Linked DNA regions of Homo sapiens: region 1 is linked to region 2. Evidence: promoter capture Hi-C in 16 types of primary human blood cells and fetal thymus (Javierre and others, 2016). All regions are on one chromosome and are shown on one strand. The core of a region is centred on a gene start or on the middle of the fragment in contact, and the rest is flanking DNA. Distances in the headings are between cores, read along the strand shown.

Region 1 (7,202 bases), core at 1-2,500, about 110 Mb after region 2:
AACTTGTCCAACATGGCGAAACCCCATGTCTCTACTAAAAATAAAAAAATTAGTCGGGCTTGGTGGCGCGTGTCTGTAGTCCCAGCTACTTGGGAGGCTGAGGCAGGAGCATCGCTAGAACCCGGGAGGCAAAAGTTGCAGTGAGCCGAGACTGCCGAGATTGCTCCACCGCAGTCCAGCCTGGGAGACAGAGCCAGACTCCGTTTAAAAAAAAAAAACAAAAAAAGAAAAAAACAAAAAACAAAACCAAAAAAAGCCATGAAAGAGAGAGAAAAAAAAGAGATAAGACAAACAATGATAAGAGAATCAACTACACTTGAAACACAACAAAGCTGAATTTGGGAGGGAAAGGAAGTGCAGCTACGCTAAAAATCCTCATCCCACAAAGCGAGGCATCAAGAGACACTGTCTAACCTGATGGAAGGAGCAGTAATCCATTTAAAAACAAAAAAACAAAACAGAACAAAAAACAGCGAGAGAGAGAAAAAAGGATGATCCATTCGAGCCCACCGCATCTAATCATCTAATATTACGTACATTCACCTATTTTGCCTACCACGTGTCGGGTTCTGCGCTGGGCTCCAGGGAAACAAAAAAGTATGGCTGGGTCACCACTCCCCACTTACTGGATAAATGCTGTAAAGCCCTTTACCCACTCCGTATTCCTACTTGCCCTAAGGATGGGAGTGGGAATTGGAACGCAGGTCCGCAGATTAATATTCCCCATGTCTTCCCCAACAGTTTCCAGACTGGGAGAGGAATATAAATACAGTGTCGGACCATGTCCCGGGTCAACAACTAAAAAACAGTGATCGAATGAAAGAGGTTGTGGGAGCAGGGTATTCGCCACAAGGTGGGAGTTGTCATCTCCCCGAGAAGAGGTGTGTTAGGAGTCAGGTACCAAACAACCGGCCGTGAAACCGTAAGCAGTCACTATTCCTCTTTCCTCGGGATCAAATGGGGATAAGCCCAGGATCCCGCCCCCTTTGAGTTCAGAATTGGCCCGGAGTCCTGCCCCAGAGCAAAAATTCTTCGATCACCTCCAGGCATCTCTTCCCTACCTCACAGCTCCCGGCTGGTCTCATTTCAGATTCCCAAGTCCTGCCTCTGCACTCACCCCATTCGGGAGATTCTTCACGATCAGTCGCGACATGGCGCAGGGTCCCCGCTGTTTTGATTCCAACACGACTGGTCAGCGTCTTCCACCAAGTTTCACGCTACCGCCCTGGGCGCCGCCATCTTTACCGAGCCGGAACACAGTCACGTGGCTGAGACCTTGGCCTGACCTGTCCGGAAGTAGGCGTGGCTAATCCAAAACTACTCAGGGAGGTCACACCCCACAAGGGGTGGGCCTGGGCGCTTGCATTTTGCGCAGGCGCAGGGCCTTGGGCGGATTCTGTGAGACGCCAATGCAGCGGAGAAGGCGGCAGGGGGCGCCGGTCCCTAACATGCGCCGGTTTAGCTCGGTGTTAAGGGTCGCGCCAACCGGGCAATCGCGTTCTCTCCTTTTTCTTATTTTATTTTTATTATTGAGCCTTAGGACTCCCCTGAGAACGGGGGCAAGATTAGGGACCCTTGCCTTCCTCGTAGAAATGGGGAAAGTGAAGTTTAGAGAGATTGCCAGCCAACACAAATCAAGTATTGAGCCTTTTGTGTAAATACTTGGAATGAACATGTTGGAAATAAACGCTCTCATTTTGCAGGCAGATAAACTGGGAATCGTGCGTGTAAAGCAGCTTGCTCAAAGTCTTATAACTATGAATTGGAAAGTCAGATTCGAGCTAGGGACTGCCTAGGGCCCTACAATGAGTCTCTACGCCTTCAACCCCAGCCCCACAAGCATTTTGCCTCCCTTCCTAATGTTTGGAACTCTCAGCTGGCCAATCTTCTAGCTGAGAGATCTTGGCCAAAATGGCCTCTGAGCCTTTGTGTCTACTTCTATAAAATGGGAATAATTCTTTATTATGCTAGGGGTTAAGGAGGTGAGAACGTGAAAGGGATGTTATTTTCCTATTGCTTCTCTGAGCATTCTCGGTACCTACTCTTGGATGGAGACATCCTATGAAAACCCCTATTTTCACTCTTAAATGACGGTATTTCCTTTCTGTTTCCCCACAGTGCCTCAGCTGCACTGGACGTTGCTGCCAAGCTTCTGCAATTTCCTTCACCTAAAAGACATTCCGTCCCCCCTTCTTATTGTTAACAGCTTTATCACAAACCATGCAATTCACCCACTTAAAGTGCACAATTCAATGGTGCTGACTATATTTACAGAGGTGTGCAGCCATCACCACAATCAATGCTAGGACATTTTCATTACCCCCAAAGAAACACCACACCCTTTAGCTATAACCTTCCAATTCCTCCCTCTCCCTTCCCTCTGATAACCACTAATCTACTTTCCGTCTCTATGGATTTGTCTGTTATGGACATTTCATGTAAATGGAATAATACAATATGTAGTCTTTTGTAATTGACTTCTTTCACTTAGCATAATGTTTTCAAAGTTCTTCCATGTTGCAGCATGAATCAGCACTTTATTTATCTGTTTATTTATTTGAGACAGGGTCGGGCTCTGTCACCCCGACTGGAGTGCAGTGGCACAATCTCAGCTCACTGCAACCTCCGCCTCCCAGGCTCAAGCCATCCTCCCACCTCAGCCTCCTGAGCAGCTGGGACTACAGGCACATGCCACCATGCCTGGCTAATTTTTTTTTTTTGGTAATTTTTTGGTAGAGGCGAGGTTTCAACATGTTGCCCAGGCTGGTCTTGAACTCCTGGGCTCAAGCAATCCACCTGCCTTGAACTTTCAAAGTGCTGGGATTACAGACGTGAGCCACCACACTTTTTTTGCTGAATAGTATTACATATATGGATGTATTACATTTTATTTATTCATCAGTTGATGATGGACATTTGGGTTGTTTCCGCTTTGTGGCTACTGTGAATAATCTTGCCGTGAACATTTACCTGTAAGTTCCTGTGTGGGCATATGTTCTTATTTCTCTTGGATATATTCCTAGGAGTAGGATTGCCTGATCATATGGTAACTCTATGCTTAACCTTTTTAGAACCTGCTAACCTGTTATCCAAAGTGGCTTCCCCATTTTATATTCCTACCAGCGGTATATGAAGGTTCAAATATCTCCACATCTCCTCCAGTGTTTGTTATTGGGTCTTTATAATCATAGCCACTCTAGTGGGTGTACAGTGGTGACTCAATGTTTTGATTTGCATTTCCCCGATAACTAATGAAACAGCATCTTTCATGTGCTTTTGGCCACTGGAATATCTTTCTGAACCCATTCCCATCCCCTCTCTAAGACCAGCTCAAACATGGCATCCTCGAATATGCCTCTTTCCTACTGAGCCCCAAATGCAGGGAGCTCATGCATCTGCCACAGCATAAACCTACAGAACTCGCTGGTGAGGAGCGCACAGTGTAGGTTCAGAGTTATAGATGAGGCCACTTGTTCTTTCTACATTATGTTGCCATAGGGGCATCCTTAGATCCATCTTTGCAAAGCATCACACTGGGCACCAGGAGGAGACAGGTAATAGGAGTTCATTAAATGCTAATTGTAAATTAAGGTCTGTCCATTCAACAGAATTCTATGCAGTTGTTAAAAAACGGTAGGTATGTAGCTATAAATGTTTTTGAAGGAAATGCATCAGTCAGCAGGACACAGAGGTATACTCAAAAGGATTTAACAAAAGCAAATCTGGACAAAAAGCTATTTACAGAAGGGTGGGCAGTGTAGTGGGATGAATGATCCCCTGTCCCCTCACCACCACACACACTGGGGGCATCCTGACCCCTGGAAGCTGTAAATGTGACTTTATTTGCAAAAAAGTGTTGTATTAGTTTGTTCTCACGCTGCTAATGAAGACATACCTGAGACTGGGTAATTTATAAAGGAAAGAGATTTAATGGACTCACAGTTCCACATGGCTGGGGAGGCCTCACAATCATGGTGGAAGAGCAAGGGATGTCTTACCTGGTGGCAGGCAAAGAGAGAATGAGAACCAAGTGAAAGGCTTTCCCCTTATAAAACCATCAGATCTCGTGAGACTTATTCACTACCACGAAAACAGTATGGGGAAACCACCCCCATAATTCAATTATCTCCCACTGGGTCCCTCCCAGGACACGTGGGGATTATGGGAGCTACAATTCAAGATGAGATTTGGTGGGGACACAGCCAAACCATATCAAGGGTCTTTGCAAATGTACTTAAGGGTCTCAAAATGAGATCATCCTGAATTATCCTGGTAGACCCTAAATCCAATGACACATGTCCTTTTAAAGGACACACAGAGAACGTCATGTGTAGGTGGAGGTAGAGTCTGGAGTGATGCAGTCACAAGTCAACGAAGACCTGGAGCCACCAGAAGCTGAAAGAAGCAAGGAAGCGTTCTCCCTTGGAGGTTTTGGAGGGAGCATGGCCCTGCTGGTGCTTTGGGGGATTCTGGCCTCCAGAAATGTGAGAGAATAACTTTGCATTGTTATGCCATCTAATTTGTGGTAATTTGAGACAGCACCTGCAGCAAATGAATACAGGAAGGGTTAAGGGAACCAACAAAGGATGGCCAAACCCCAGGGCCTGGCAACAGTGGGGAGCTATCACCACCCCTGGGGCTGAAGGGCAGAGTAGGACATGTCATTCCTGAGCTTCAGTGATGCCAGGAGCCATGGAAGAGGGACGTACTTTAAGGACTAGAGCTATAGAGAGATACAGCCACTGTGGAACCACAGGTGTGTGTGTGTCGGGGATAAATACACTGTCCCCTCTTTCTCTTCCCAACTGCAGTTTCCTACTGGAGCCTCCCCTTGGCCGAACCAATGGGAAGCTGGAGGCATGATCACAGATGTTGCAGTGCACACAGATTGCATCTGGGGCACAGAGCAAAGTGGAGGAGCAGGCTCAGGGAATGGGAGATGGGCTGTTAGAGAAGAACTAGCACATGGGACATGGGACAATCTCCAAAATATATTGTTAAGTGAAAACCAGCAATATACTAAATAATGTATTATGTATGCTTTCACTTAGGTAAAAACAAAACACACACACAAAAAAAGGAGGGAGATGGGTGAGGATACATAGATACTTGTCATGTTTGTAGGCCAGGGTAGTCGTAAATTTCCAAATGTATTGTCTTGCAGTTCTGAAGGCTAGAAGTTCGAGATGAAGGTGTTGGCAGCGCCGGTTCCTTCTGAGAGCCGTGAGGTTGAATCTGTTCCTCCCTGTCTCACTTCTGGTGGTGTGCTGGCAATCTTTGACACTCTTTGGCCTGTAGACATGTCACCCCGATCTCAGCCTTCATCTCCACATGACAGTCTCCCTGTGTCCATGAGTTCATGTTCAAACTTCCCCATTTTAAAAGACATTGGATTAAAGCTAATTCTAATGACCTCATTTTAATATAGTTACCTCTGTAAACACTCTATTTCCAAATAACATCACTTTGTGAGGTATGAAAAGTTAAGACTCCAACATAGGAATTTGGAGGGGACACTATATATGATTTATGTAAGCAAAGGCGATCTCAAAAGATACATGAGGAAGTGGTAACAGCAGTTGCTTCTGGGGAGGGGACCGAGGAAGTGAGTATACGGATGGATGGAAATGTCCTTTACCTTGAGTAACCTTTTATAATTTTGATATTTCATTATGAAAAAATTACCTATTATTTTTAATACATTAAAATGTTAATCATGTATAAACTACATCTGCATATATTTATACTTAACCATAGGGTAAAGTCAACAAGCATGTATATTAATTGTGGGCATTTCTGCAGGATGGCTTTGGAGGGGTGAAATTGTAGGGAGCCCAGTAAATCTTTATGTATTTATTTTGGGTTTTGTCTTTTTTTTTTTTTGAGACGGTAACTGGGATTATAGGTGCACACCACCGTGCCTGGCTAATTGTTTGTATTTTTATTACAGATGGGTTTCACTGTGTTGGCCAGGCTGGTCTCAAATTCCAGACCTCAAGTGATCCACCTGCCTTGGCCTCCCAAAGTGCTTGGATTACAGGCATGAGTGACTGTGTCTGGCCTTTTTTTTTTTTTTTTTTTTTTTTTTGAGACAAGGTCTTGCTCTGTTGCCCAGACTGGAGTGCTGTGGTGTGATCAGGCCTTACTGCTGCCTTGATCTCCTGAGCACAAGTGATCCTCCTTCCTCAGCCTCCGAAGTGGGTGGGACTACATGCATGCATTACCACACCCAGCTAATTTTTAAATTTTTTGTAGAGACAGGGTCTGGCTTTGTTGCCCAGGCTGGTCTCAAATTTCTGGGCTCAAGTGATCCTCTCGCTTTGGCCTCCCAAAGTGCTGGGATCACAGGTGCACGCCACCATGCCCGGTCTGTATATGTTTTAAATCAGAGATTGGCAAACTTTTTCTTAAAAAGTCAGAGAGTATTTCACTATGTGGTCTCTAATGCAACTTCTGCATCCTGCTACTGTATTTTGAACACATCCAGAGCTAACATCTGTGGCCGTGTTCCAATAAAACTTTATTTACAAAACCAGGAAGCCACCCCATGAGCTATAGTTTTAAGTTACAGGATTATGGGGTGTATTGATTTTCTAGGGCTTCTATATCAAATTACCAGAAACTGGATGGCTTCAAACAACAGAAGTGTATTCTCTTGCAGTTCTGGAGGCCAGGAATTTAAAATCAAGGTGTCAGCAGCGCAGTGGTCTCTCCAAAGGCTCAAAGTGGAAGGATCCTTTTTTGTCTCCTCCAGTTTCTGGTGGCGGTAGGTATTCCTTGGCTTGTGGCTGCATAGCGTCCGTCTCTGCCTCTGTTTTCACATGACCTTCTCCACTCTGGTGTCTGAGTCAAATCCACCTCCCTATGCTTCCTCTTAGCAGGACACCTGCCATTAAGCTTAGGACCCACTGTAACTCCAGGTCAATCTCATCTTGAGATCCATAGGTGATTATATCTGCATAGACCCTTTTTCCAAAAAGAGTCACATTCACAGGTTTTGAGGATTAGGATGTAGGCATATCTTTTGGGGGCTGCTGTTCGACCCATGAGATCTGCTTGCTTTGTAGTAGTCTACTCTGAAGATCAGATTTCACCCTCTCTCTGTCTTGTGTAGACTGTCTATTCAATTAAAACACATATGCATGTAAAAATGTACCCTCAAGCCTGGAGTCGATGACTTACGGGTCACTGTGTTTCAAAGT
Region 2 (6,738 bases), core at 3,267-5,766:
TTGAATATACCTGGAAATTTTGCCACACAAAAATCCATCCAGTGACATAAAGAAGTGATTAAAGAACCCACCAGCAACATGGTCAAGAGTAGGGAATGACATCCGTGGGAAGCAGGTCCAGGGAGATTCCATAAATGAAATGTCTCTTGGCATGGCTGACTCCAGCTGAGACAGTGAAATCCAAGATGCCAGGACCAAACATGCCTTAGTATCTTTGAACTTCAGTGTTATCTAAGGCCAGTCTATTAACCCCAGGCAAACTGAGGTCTAAACCTGGGTTTCCCAACATTCTGACCTTATTAAAGTTATACTCTTTTATAGCATGGACCTATGTTTTAAATAGACCTATGCTTTGTACCCAAAGGCATTCAACTGCCAATCAAAAGTCATAATCAGCATGAGATGGCCAGTGTGGCCTGGCTGAGTTGATAGTACTTCAGCTCCAAAAAATAAACAGGTTTTCTTAGCCTGTGTGGTGTTGTCTTCCACTGGGCTTTCTGAAATAATGAATATGGCCTTACACTTTTCTCAGATTCCCAGGGACCCAGGAGCCCCAGGCTGAGGACCACCATGGGCAGGGGCAGGAGGTGGAAGGATGTGGGGACACTGTGTGTGCTATCTTAAAAGATTTCTAGAAGTCGATTTCACCTATCTGTTCTTGTCGTACTGGTAGGCACGAAACTCTCCTCTTCATCTCTTTCTCCTCCTGTACTCTGTGACCCTAGAGGTGGTCTTTCCCCACCACAGTGTCGCTCTCTCCCGGGAGCACATCCCATCAGAGCAGCTCACCCTGCAGAGCCTCTGCCCTGGCAGGTTGTCATGGCAACAGCCAGACAGGCCTGGTCCCTACCCTCAGGATGCTCAAGAATATTCAGGGACAGAGGGCGTACCGTGTGACTTTTTTTTTTTTTTTTTTGAGACAGAGTTTTGCTCTTGTTGCCCAGGCTGGAGTGCAATGGCACGATCTCGGCTCACCACAACCTCCACCTCCCGGGTTCAAGTGATTCTCCTGCCTCAGCCTCCCAAGTAGCTGGGATTACAGGCATGCACCACCATGCCTGGCTAATTTTGCATTTGTAGTAGAGACTGGGTTACTCCGTGTTGGTCAGGCTGGTCTTGAACTCCCGACCTCAGGTGATCTGCCCGCCTTGGCCTCCCAAAGTCCTGGGATTACAGGCATGAGCCACTGCTCCCAGCCCTGAATCTTTTAATCACAATACAGCACCGGATTTAACAATGGCTCAAAGACAACCTGAGCTAGAGACTGGCAGGGCATTATGAATGGCCCCATTAACTGTGAGAACTAAAACCACAAATACTGGTTTTCCCAACTCTTTGTGAGGTGCACAGCGCTTCTTCACAGACCTCATTGCGCTTGAGCCTCACACCAGCCCCACAGGGCAGATGGATAGACAGCATTCGTTTTCTGGCTTTACAGACATGCAGGCCTCACCCTGCTCTCCATTCTATTGAGGACAAAACCAAGAGCGAGAGAATGCACAGCTGACAGGTGACCAGGCCAGGGCTAAAAGCAGGTTACCACGACTTCACCCAATCCCAGCTTTCAGAAGTTACAGGAGAAAGAGATCACTTCAGACCCAGATGATCCTAAGATGTATTTTGAGATAGTTGAAAGTCATGCCAGGTTGAGATAGGACCGACAGGGGAAAATAATGGCATGGGAATACCAGGCAGGTGGAGCTAGCTGGACACAGCAGCTGCAAAGCAGTGCTTGCTCAGAAGCAGGGGCCTGCCTTGTTTGGGGTCGGCCACTCCTATTAACTCACACTCCTTGTGTGTCCGCAGGCATTGGCAGTGGCAGGCCTGAGCCCCCTCCTCCAGAGAAGCCATTCCCCTGCCTCATTCCCTAGGCCTTTTGCCACCCCACCAGCCACACCTGGCAGCCGAGGCTGGCCCCCACAGCCCGTCCCCACCCTGCGGCTTGAGGGGGTCGAGTCCAGTGAGAAACTCAACAGCAGCTTCCCATCCATCCACTGCGGCTCCTGGGCTGAGACCACCCCCGGTGGCGGGGGCAGCAGCGCCGCCCGGAGAGTCCGGCCCGTCTCCCTCATGGTGCCCAGCCAGGCTGGGGCCCCAGGGAGGCAGTTCCACGGCAGTGCCAGCAGCCTGGTGGAAGCGGTAGGTGACTCGCAGATGGGCAGGGGGGAGAGGCCACGGGCAACAAGGGGACTTGGCATGCGGGGCTGAGAAGGGAGCACCTGGCTCTTGCCAAATTCATTGCAGTCAATATCTGAGCCCGAAAGACCCTCCCTCTCAGGGCTGCAGGAGGGCTCGTGTGCGGAAAGCCATGACTGCACAAGATGCTATGGGCTCTCTTGAGGCTGGGCCCACTGCAGAGGGCGGCAGAAACCACTGAGCAACTTATCCCTTATACTGCAGCTGCTCGACATGCAAATGTGAGCCTGGCTGCCTTTATACACAGACAGGCAAGATCCAAGGTGCTCAGGCCTGACTGCCCGTGAGCATCACCTGGGGAGCTTTGGAAACCCGGGACAGATTAACTGATGATTGTTAAAGCTCTTCGATGATTTTAACGTGTAGCAAGGTTGAGAGCCACTAGCCTAGAACAAGCGAGCTTTCAGTCCCACTGTGCTCTGCCTGGTCAGAGCATCTAGTGCAATCCCGGCACCACATTATTAGGGACCTTTGACACACTGGAACAAACCCAACAGAGGATGACCAGGATGGCAAGGTTCCTAGAAACCATTTCCTAGGAGAACCGTTTCAGGGAATTCGGGAAGAAAACCTGGAGAGGAGGTGACTTTGGAGGGTGCGATACACCTCTCACACCTGCAACGGGTGGGATGGGGAAAGGGTGGCAGGCTCAGCCCACCAGCGGACAGATTTCAGCTCACATGGGGAAGACCTTCCCAAATGAGCTCTTCCAAGATGAGAGGGGCTTGCCTGAAAGGTAGTGAGCCCCCCATCATCAGACATAGCCAAGCAGAGACTGTGCTCATCCGGGCGTCAGGCTGTGGTGCAGGAGGTGGGGCGTTAAACCAGGTGGCTTCCAAGGTTTACCTCTCAAAGTCTGGTATTCCTGTGGCCTCGATCATCCTGCATTCATTTCACAGACCTTCCCTGAGCGCCTACCATGTGCAGGCCCTGTTCTAGGTACAGGGACACAGCTGAGAAACAGAGCTTCTGCTCTCATGAGCTCACATCATGGTGAGGAGAGACAGATAATAAACACATACATATATAACACATCAGGAAGGTCAGGAGTGCCAAAGAAAAACTAAGCAGGGCAAGGAGAGAATGAGTGGCGTGGGCAAGGAGCAAGACAAACAGATGCCTGAAAGGAGCGAGTGCCAGGCTGCACTCAGCTTCCCCCGACCCGCTGGCTCAGGAGCCGATTTTCCCATAGCCAGGCACTAAGCAGCCGGTAGGGAGGACAGAGAAGCTTAAGGGTCACCTGCTGGCCCTTCCCAGCAGAAGCAAGGCAGGGGCATGCGCCGTGTTTGCACAGATACCTCACCCCTGGAAAGGCAGCAGCAGGCAATGGGCAGTGGGCCTGTCTCAGCAGTTTCACCAGGGAGAATGGTTTCTCTGAAAGAATAGTATAAAGGTTCAGTGGGTGTCAGAAAGGAGAGAGGCAGGCTGGGATCTGCTGATACAGCATCAGGGCAACCCCCCGGCCCCTCTGAGAGCCAAACCTTCTCTGGTTTTTGTTTTGGTTGTTTTTTGAGACAGGGTCTCGCTCTGTCACCCAGGCTGGAGTGTAGTGGTACAATCACAGCTCAGTGCAGCCTGGCGCTGCTGGGGTCAAATGATCCTCCCACCTCAGTCTCTGGCCTTGCTAAGATCACAGGTGTGCATCACCACACCCAGCTAATTATTCTTAAATTTTTTGTAGAGACGAAGTTTCCCTGTGTTGCCTGGGCCTGGTCTCGAACTCCTGGGCTCAAGCAGTCCTTCTGCCTGGGCTTCCCAAAGTGCTGGGTGACAGGTGTGAGCCACCGTGCTGGGCCATAAGCAAGTCTTCATATATTTGATGACAGTGTTTGACCACCCCAGCCAAAACTTCTCTGGCCTGCACATCCCTAATTCTGGCAGATGCTCCATCTCCACTTGTTCCCCATGGGTGCCCCTCCCAACACACACACGTACACGTGCACACACGCACACTTCCCCAAGTGACCTACCAGATACCCCCTCGCTCTAGCCCTCAAGGGAAGAGCTGGGCTCCAGGAGTAATGTTCCTTTGGTTCTTCATGGCTCCCACCCCGCTCCTTCAGGTCTTGATTTCAGAAGGACTGGGGCAGTTTGCTCAAGATCCCAAGTTCATCGAGGTCACCACCCAGGAGCTGGCCGACGCCTGCGACATGACCATAGAGGAGATGGAGAGCGCGGCCGACAACATCCTCAGCGGGGGCGCCCCACAGAGCCCCAATGGCGCCCTCTTACCCTTTGTGAACTGCAGGGACGCGGGGCAGGACCGAGCCGGGGGCGAAGAGGACGCGGGCTGTGTGCGCGCGCGGGGTCGACCGAGTGAGGAGGAGCTCCAGGACAGCAGGGTCTACGTCAGCAGCCTGTAGTGGGCGCTGCCAGATGCGGGCTTTTTTTTATTTGTTTCAATGTTCCTAATGGGTTCGTTTCAGAAGTGCCTCACTGTTCTCGTGACCTGGAGTTAACCGGAACAGCGTCTTCATTCATTTCTGTTGGGACCAGACGCGGAGCCTGGGTGCGCGAGCCGCCCTCCGGGAGGAAGGCGCCCGGCTGCGTCTGCAGAGGCGGGGAGAGGAGGCGGCGAGGGTCCCGGGGCGCGAGGAAGGCGCCTGCCCTCTCCCAGCTCGCAGGCCCCGGGCCCGGCCGCGCCTCCGCGGGGAGAGCACCCCGGCTTCCCGCGCGCCCTCACCAAAAGGACCCTACAGCAAACGGGTGTCTTTCGACTCTGCTTGTAGAAACCATTTGCACATATTCTGTACGAGCCTCGCTGTCTCCCTAGAGCCAGGGCCCTGCGGATTTGGAGAAGGGAGCGGGGCAGGACTTCCAGGAGGACCCCAACCCGGCCCGGAGAGGGAGGAGGAGGCCTCCAGGGGCGCGGAGCTCTGGGGATGGGCGTCGGGCCGGCAGTGGTGCGGCTCACTCCGTCCCTGCCCACCTGCGACGGGATCCCCCGACCGGCACGGGCCACGCCGAGCTCCCGGCCAGCCGCCGGCCCGCAGGCAGCGCGAGGGAGGAGCTGCGCCGCCGGCTCCGCCCAACCAGGTGGTGCTGAGCTTCCGCTGAGCGCTCTTTTGTTTTGTGGTTTGACACTTTTCTTGACAGCATGTTGCAGTTTCTTTTCGGTTTTGGTTTTTTTTAAATGTTTTATTTTGCTTTCCCAGCGGGAGGGGAGGAAGAAGAGTGTTTACAAAGTCCTGTAGCCCCCTCACCTTTCTGTTTTCACTTTTGCCAATGTACATCGGGTTTGGTTTTCTTGTATTATTTAAACGGTTGTGGTTTCCTTTTTCCACGGAGGTTCAATAGAAGCCGCTGCAGGAGAGTTTTACCAACCATTGTGTATGCCCAATAATTTGTTATCATTTCCTTAGGTAGTAACCTATTTTTGTTCTGGTTTGGTTCGGTTATCTAATGGAAAGGTAACTGGCAATGCACTTGATGTGGTCTTGCACATGTGGGTGATAGAGTTGGGTTCCTTTTTATGCTGGGTGTACAGGTGGGTTTGGGAGAGAGGAGCATGCGCGAGAGAGTCTCCGAGTGTGTGCGACGCGTGTGTGTGTGGTGGGTTGTCTGTGTGCATATGTCCTGCCCGTGTATATGCACCCACACCATGTGCCCGTGCACACCAGTGACTACGCAGTCCCCCCTTTCTGGTTTAGCTGTGGGAAGATCTGAATCTGGGGCCGTTTGAAAGCAAAAACAAACCACTGTCTCTGCTTCTGAAACGGGAATCAGTAACTCTTTGCATTTTCTGTCCCACAAGATATGCAAAAACAATGCAATAATATTCATTTAAAAATACAATTGTGAGTTGTGTTGGCATTAAAACTGTATTTTAAAAAAAGACAGAAATTTAAGGGAAAAACACAAGAAGGCATTTTGCTTCAATATATTCCGTGTAATGTTTTATTGCATTGATAATGTTTCTGTTGAAGAAACCGTTATACTTGAATTCAGGTCAGTTTCAGTATTTTTCAAATATTTTTTTAAAACTGAATTGCAATTGTGCCAAGCGAATATAATGAATTGAATTAAGTTGGTTTTCGGATTCACTTCTTGTATATTTTGCTGCATGTAAAGTAAATCATTTTGTATTTGGAGTGTGACAAGCTTTACCTTTGAACTCAAGTGCTTTTCTATATGTGGTTGGGGGAAAGGGAACAAGTTTTCTTTAGTTTGCACAATGAGCAAAGGTATCACCAGTGTAGTCATTATTCTGCTCTCCACAAACAGGTTTGGACATTACTGTTTTGCATATCTTGTGTTTGCTTACATTTCCCTCAATTTTTCCAAAATCGTTTGCTGGGTATGTTTGTACCGCCTCTTGCTGTGAGAGACCAGGACCTATTTTATTCCAGTCTTCACTCTGTCCACTCTGCTCTGGTCATCTGATTTGGTACTTCTCCAAGAACAGCCCTTCACTGTGAGGTGCAGGGAGGCGTTCTGATGAGCCCTCAGTCACTGGGCCGTCATCCGCATCCCCCATGGAAGAGGTAGCTGGCTTTCCCTTCCCTTCCACCACACGGAATTTTCTCTTTGGCTTCCTTAGGA

The links. The method cuts DNA at HindIII sites, captures the fragments that hold promoters and counts their contacts. A CHiCAGO score of 5 or more calls a contact.
Region 1: a contact is called between the fragment with the promoter of RBM19 here and the fragment with the promoter of CACNA1C-AS1 in region 2, in 1 of 17 cell types (naive CD4 T cells). The highest score is 8.1, in naive CD4 T cells.

Annotation. Positions count from the first base shown.
Region 1 is chr12:113,965,075-113,972,276 of GRCh38, forward strand. It overlaps RBM19 (RNA binding motif protein 19), which reads right to left and starts at 1,251. Exons shown (of 24, transcript NM_016196.4): 1 at 1,118-1,251. The coding sequence starts at 1,153. RefSeq lists enhancers at 1-601, 602-1,529, 1,488-1,557. The HindIII fragment of the contact is 5,534 bases long and covers 1-2,147 here.
Region 2 is chr12:2,686,641-2,693,378 of GRCh38, forward strand. It overlaps CACNA1C-AS1 (CACNA1C antisense RNA 1), which reads right to left and starts at 4,517. Exons shown (of 4, transcript NR_045725.1): 1 at 4,429-4,517; 2 at 4,167-4,339; 3 at 3,500-3,570. It overlaps CACNA1C (calcium voltage-gated channel subunit alpha1 C), which reads left to right. Exons shown (of 47, transcript NM_000719.7): 46 at 1,807-2,139; 47 at 4,260-6,738. The coding sequence ends at 4,559. RefSeq lists a silencer at 4,977-5,246. The HindIII fragment of the contact is 2,873 bases long and covers 3,423-6,295 here.